Regions from separate parts of the Homo sapiens genome. Here region 1 is linked to region 2. The links are contacts of gene promoters, found by promoter capture Hi-C in human tissues and cell types (Jung and others, 2019). All regions are on one chromosome and are shown on one strand. The core of a region is centred on a gene start or on the middle of the fragment in contact, and the rest is flanking DNA. Distances in the headings are between cores, read along the strand shown. Region 1 has its middle 17 kb from the start of FAM107B. Region 2 holds the start of RPP38 (ribonuclease P/MRP subunit p38).

The links. Contacts are between HindIII fragments. The study calls those that stand out against the background at their distance.
Region 1: a fragment that was not itself captured here is called in contact with the fragment with the promoter of RPP38 in region 2 in 1 of the 25 tissues and cell types used here (mesenchymal stem cells).

Annotation. Positions count from the first base shown.
Region 1 is chr10:14,790,057-14,793,508 of GRCh38, forward strand. No RefSeq gene overlaps it. Among named protein-coding and RNA genes, the nearest start is that of FAM107B, 17 kb to the left of the region's middle. The HindIII fragment of the contact is 5,190 bases long and covers 1-3,452 here.
Region 2 is chr10:15,095,799-15,098,936 of GRCh38, forward strand. It overlaps RPP38 (ribonuclease P/MRP subunit p38), which reads left to right and starts at 1,557. Exons shown (of 3, transcript NM_183005.5): 1 at 1,557-1,968. It overlaps RPP38-DT (RPP38 divergent transcript), which reads right to left and starts at 1,521. Exons shown (of 2, transcript NR_160789.1): 1 at 1,289-1,521; 2 at 1-1,067. RefSeq lists enhancers at 1,102-1,673, 1,975-2,064, 2,125-2,264 and a silencer at 1,475-1,834. The HindIII fragment of the contact is 8,419 bases long and covers 1-3,138 here.

The DNA of each region.
Region 1 (3,452 bases), core at 888-3,387, 310 kb before region 2:
GGTTTAGGGTTAGGTAGATATATAGGCAGCTAGTTCTGAAGAACTGCTTTCCTCAGACACTTCCCAGTTGACTGTGATATAGGATTTACTAAATCCTAGACAGCAACAAGTAGAATATTTTAAAATTGCTATAATCAAAGGAATAGTAATAAACAAGAGGCTTCGGTCTGTGTCAAACAAGAATCTCCAGGCAAAGAGTTGAAATCAATTACATGAGTTCAAACACAAAAAAAGAAAGAAACTGTTAGGTAACCATAGTATGCATCCAAACTGTGACTGGTCTTTTAAAATATGATTTTATTAAGTTACAGTTCAGCTGGGCACAGCGGCTTGCACCTGTAATCCCAGCACTTTGTGAGGCCAAGTTAGAAAGATTGCCCAGAAGTTCGAGACCAGGGAATGATAGGAAAATCCTATCTTTACCAAAAGTAAAAAAAAAAAAAAGATTGCCAGGAGTGGTAGTATGTGCCTGTAGCTCTACCAGCTACTCTAGGAGGCTGAGGTGGGAGGATTGCTTGAGCCCAGGAGGTCAAGGCTGCAGTAAGACAAGATTGCACCTGCACTCCATCCTAGGTGACAGAGTAAGACCCTGTCTCAAAAAAAAAAAAAATTACAATTTACATACAACTAAAATTTTCCAATTTGAAGTGTTTGTTTTGAGTTGTGATAAATGACGGAAATCACATCGCCACCACCCCAATTGAGATACAAAATGTTATCATCATCGTCAAAACTTCCCTTATGCCTCTTGTCAGCTAATCTCCTAATCCCATGCCTTGGCTCTGGCAACCACTGATCTTTCTGTAGATATAGTCTTGCCTTTTCTACAATTCCATAACAATGGAATCATGTAATATATAGTCTTCTGTGCCTAGCTTTTCATTTAGCTTTTGAGATTCATCATGTTGTTTGATCAGTGGTTTTCTTTCTTTTTATCGGTCAGTAGGATTCCATTGTTTAGGTACGCTACAATTTGTTTACCTGTTCACCAGATAATAGCATTTTAGTTGTTTTTCCTCATGGATGTCTAATTCTTCTAGCATCATTTGTTGGAAAGACTATTCTTTCTCCTTTGAATTCTGTTGGCATTTTTGTGAAAAATCAATTGACCACGCGTGTTTGAGTCTCTTTCTGGACTCATCTCTGTTCCGTTGATCTGTGTGTCTAAATTTATGCCAATACCACACTGTCTTGATGACTGTAGCTTTAAAATAAGTCTTGAAATGAGGTAGTGAGAGTCCTCCCACTTTGTTCTTTATTTTCAACATTATTTTGTCCACTCTAGGTCCTTTACAATTACATACAAATGTACAATCAGCCTGTCAATTTCTACCAAAAACATTCTCCCAGGATTTTGATTGGAATTTGCTTTGTAATTATTTTATGAGATGGTCAGTCACAAGAGGAGAGCCAGGCAAAGCTTAGCAAAACAATGTTTATTATGTTCACAGGTCCTGGAGACAGGAGGCTATACAGGGCCACTTGGGAAAGACACCAGAGTGATCAGGCACAAAACACAGGAGCCAGGGGAAAGTTGAGGCCACTGCTGTTAGTAGGGCTTCCCCAGGAAAGGCAAGACATGGCAGGGTGCACTGTTTAGGGTTGGCTAGTTTGATGAATTTGAGCAGCTTTGGGCTGCAGGAGTGGTCTCTAGCTGCCTGGTCCCTGGACCCAGGATGATCAAGGTAGAGGAATATTGTTTCCTGGGTATATGGTCTAAATAAAAGAAGTGTGGCTCTGGGTTAATTAGTTTGCATATCAAAAGTGTGCTCCTAGCCAGGCGTGGTGGCTCACATCCATAATCCCAGCATTTTTGGAAGCCAAGGTGGGCGGATCACTTGAGGCCAGGAGTTTGAGACCAGCCTGGCCAACATGGTGAGACCCTGTCTGTACTAAAAATACAAAAATTAGCCGGCATGGTGGTGTACATCTGTAATCCCAGCTACTCAGGAGGCTGATGAGGCACGAGAATTGCTTGAACCAGGAAGGCAGAGGCTGCAGTGAGCCAAGATCATGCCACTGCACTCCAGCCTGGGTAATAGAGTGAGACTCCGTCTCAAAAAAAAAAAGTGCTGCTAACTGAGCCTTTTGATATTTTTTAAGAATTGGCTGGCCCTGAGGGAGTCAGTCTTTCCCTTGCCTGAACCTTTTTTAAAATATGTCATGACATCATAACATACAGAAAATTTAAAAATATTTACAATACAGAATTTCACTGAATCTGTAGATAGATTTGGGGGGTTTAGTAGGCTAGCTAAATAATGGCCCCAAAGTCTCATGTCTTTATCCCTGGAATCTCCAAATGTGACCTTCTATGGCAAAGACTTTGCAGGTATGATTATGTTAAAGATCCTGAGATGGGGGATTATCCCGCATTATCCAAGTGGGCCCTAAAGGCAACTACACGTATCTTTGCAACAGGGAGGCAAACCTTTCACCAAAACCTTTCACCTGTACTGTTCCATCTCCTCAAACATGTGACTCTCTCAGCCGGGTGCTGTGGCTCACGCCTGTAATACCGGCACTTTGGGAAGCCGAGGCGGGTGGATTACCTGAGGTCAGGAGTTCGAGACCAGCCTGACCAACATAGAGAAACCCTGTCTCTACTAAAAATACAAAATTAGCCAGGAATGGTGGTGCATGCCTGTAATCCCAGCTACTTGGGAGGCTGAGGCAAGAGAATCGCTTGAACCCGGGAGGTGGAGGTTGCAGTGAGCTGAGATCACACTATTGCACTCCAGCCTGGGCAACAAGAGGGAAACTCCATCTCAAAAAAACAAACAAAAAATAAATGTGATTCTCTCAATTATCTGCTGACTGCTGATACGCCTCCTGCTCTTCACTCACTCTCTACGGCCATTTTCTATCACCATTTAAAACTGCTTGTCAGTGGCCGGGCGCGGTGGCTCAAGCCTGTAATCCCAGCACTTTGGGAGGCCGAGGTGGGCGGATCACGAGGTCAGGAGATCGAGACCATCCCGGCTAAAATGGTGAAACCCCGTCTCTACTAAAAATACAAAAAATTAGCCGGGCGTAGTGGCGGGCCCCTGTAGTCCCAGCTACTTGGGAGGCTGAGGCAGGAGAATGGCGTGAACCCGGGAGGCGGAGCTTGCAGTGAGCCGAGATCCCGCCACTGCACTCCTGCCTGGGCAACAGAGCGAGACTCCGTCTCAAAAAAAAAAAAAAAACTGCTTGTCATCCCCATGAATGAATAAATTCAAAATCTTACTCTTTATTTTCTTAGTAGTAATGTACCTTTTTCTAAATTTGTCTCGGGTATCCAGGATTTAAATATATCTTTGTGTTTGAAACAAGGAGAAGGAAATAAAGGGCATTCAATTAGGAAAAGAGGAAGTCAAATTGTCCCTGTTTGCAGGTGACATGATTGTATATCTAGAAAACCCCATCATCTCAGCCCAAAATCTCCTTAAGCTGATAAGCAACTTCAGCAA
Region 2 (3,138 bases), core at 307-2,806:
GCAGTTCATCATAGCTAACTCACACAATTCATTTTATGAAACACAAACCTGTTCTCACAAACTCACTGTCATCTCTTTTTAATCTTTCTAATTGTGATAAAAATCATACTGCACTTTACCCTGTGTAACCTCCAATGATCTTTGACCAAAAGCCAAATCTTTTTTTTGTTGTGTTTACTTATGGACAGTTAGGTTCTACATAGGTACTTAAACATGAAAATTGAAATCATAGAGGCTGGGCACAGTAGCTCATGCCTGTAATCCCAGCACTTTGGAAGGCCGAGGTGGGCGGATCACCTGAGGTCAGGAGTTCGAGACCAGCCTGACTAACATGGTGAAACACCGTCTGTACTAAAAATACAAAAATTAGCTGGGCTGGTGGCCCGTGCCTGTAACCCCAGCTACTCCGGAGGCTGAGGCAGGAGAATCACCTGAACCTGTGAGGCGCTGGCTGGAGTGAGCCAGGTTCGCGCCATTGCACTCCAGCCTGGGCAACAAGGGCAAAACTCTGTCTCAACAACAATAATAATAATAAATAAAAGAAAGAAATCACAGAAACTATACCAGAAAATAGGATACAAAACCAACAGTGAGGAGATTGAGAAAAGGAGGCAGATACGTAAAGAGGAAAAGGAAGGGGGCCCAAGTAAGGCCGGAAAAAGCGGGGAGAAGGAGGAGGCTCATTAGGTCAGAAGCAACCTGCCGTCTTCTAAGTTCTGGCCAAGGGTAGATCAACAGATCCAGATTCCTGAGCTTTAAAATGTTATTCGGCCGCTTCATCACTTGTCCCCGACTTTGCAGCGACTCCGATGGTAGCCTGAGTCTCCATTGCTTGGAGCAGCCACAGTGGACACTGGACGGGATATTCTGTGCAGCTGTTGCTGAACTCAAGGCAACTCTTACTGCCTTTCTCTTTTCGGGCTCAAGATTCCCTGCATTATTGCCCATAGGCATGTGTTTTACCCCATACTCCTTCTCCCTTTTATCTTGATTTTCGCGGTGCTGGGGAGTCTGCAGGGATTCCATGGCGACGGGCTCACTGGGACAGGGGCTGGGGTTGTGCGTCCCTGAGGCAAGGCAAATACAGAAAAGCGAATAGAGACAGAGGGCTAAGATTCCAAAGCACTGAAAGGTAGAAACTGGGTTAGAAGAGAGAGGGGAGCACAAACGCCCGGAGAGAGCGAGCCCTCGGGATACCATTGGCTATAGGCTGGCCTCCGAACAACTGGACGGTCCAAGTCCTGAGCGTCTGGTTACCCGGGCAACCGCATGGTCTCGCGATACATACCTCGCGCCTGCGCACTGCCCCTGTAGCGGGGGTGGGGGGACCCGGTCCGGAGACTCCACCCCGGGGCCTAAACTCGAGTCTAAAAGATTGGGCCTCGTTGTGTCGTTTCCGGGTCGCGCGACGCTGTGGGCCGCTTTCCCCTCTCCGGAGTGACCTAACACAGGATAACGAAACCTGCACTGCTCCGAGCGCTTCCTCCCCGGCCCGTCGCGTCTGCGAGGCGAGGCCGGGAGGCGAGGGCTCTGCGCACGCGCGGCGCAGGCGCACTGGGCGCCGGTGCTGTTGCCTTCAGGTGACCACGGATTCGCCATCGTGAGTTCCAGGTGGGCGCGCGGGGCCCACGTAGGGCAGGAGGCCAGCCCCGGGGGGATCGGGCCCGGGACTCTGCGGAATCTGGAGGCCGAAGCCCGCGCGCACGCAGGGTCTCTGCTGCTTCCCCAACGCCTGTTGCGTGGCCGCAGGACCCGCCGCCCTCCCGGTTGGGCCGCCCAGTCCCGGGCCGGGCGCGTGCACCCAGAGCTTCCGCGTTTCTAGTCCGGCTCCTCTGCTGGATTGCAGCGCCGGCTGGGCACCAGGAGTACAAAGCGAAAACCCCCGCCGGCCCTTCTGTTCTCCACGGTCTCCAAGGAGACACGGACAACAGAACAACACTTCCGTGTGCTAAATAGTAAAGCACCAAGGTACTCGATCCAGGGGCGGCGTGCAGTGGGGAGGTGAGCTTTGGGTCGGCCGTCGCCCCTCGGCTACCGGCGGGATCCAGAAACCGGGAGTCACCACCAATACCGTTCTCAACTTTACTTCCAGCTGGTCACTACTGTGTCGGGAGATTCTACCTTCTTTTCCGACTAACATGTATTTTTCTCCAGTCCTTTCTGCGGCGTCTCTAGTGCAGGCCACCGTCATTTCTAACCTGGACGACTCCAGGAGCGTCTTTGCTGCTCGGGGACTCTTCCTTTGCCCAGATCCACAAAGATCTATAACGTCTTTCTAATCACGACACCTCTGCTTTAGATGTTAAAGTTGCTTCACACTGGAACGCTTGCAAAGGTCTTCATTATCTGGTCCTTACCCACCTTTCCTAGTTTCTCACCGCTTTCTCTAGCATCTCTGCCCCAGCCACATTGAACTTATTTGAACGTGTTTTTTTTTTTTTTTTTTTTTTTGAGACATAGCAGTCGCCCAGGCTGGAGTGCAGTGGCGCGATTCCGGCTCACTGCAACCTCCGCCTGCCGGGTTCAAGCGATTCTCCTGCCTCAGCCTCCCGAGTAGCTGGGACTACAGGCGCCTGCCACCACGCCCGGCTAATTTTCGTATTTTTAGTAGAGACGGGTCACCACGTTGGTCAGGCTAGTCTCGATCTACTGACCTCAAGTGATCCGCCCGCCTGGGCTTCCCAAAGTGCTGGGATTACAGGCGTGAGCCACCTCGCCAGCCAACTTATTTCTTTTAATACTGAGATACCTTTCTTTACTCCATACTTCCTTTGGTAGGCATTGTTTAGATGTAGGTTAAGAGGTCCGGCCCGGCGCGGTGGCTCACGCCTGTAGTCCCAGCACTTTGGGAGGCCGAGGCGGGCGGATCACAAAGTCAGGAGATCGAGACCATCCTGGCCAACATGGTGAAACCCCGTCTCTACTAAAAATACAAGAATTAGCCGGGCGTGATGGCCCGTGCCTGTAGTCCCAGCTACTCGGGAGTCTGAGGCAGGAGAATCGCTTGAACCCTGGAGGCGGAGGATGCAGTGAGCCGAGATTGTGCCACTGCACTTCAGCCTGGCGACAGAATGAGACTCCGTCTCAAAAAAAAAAAAAAAAAAAAAAGTTCCTCTGTGAGGACTGCCTTTTCCCACC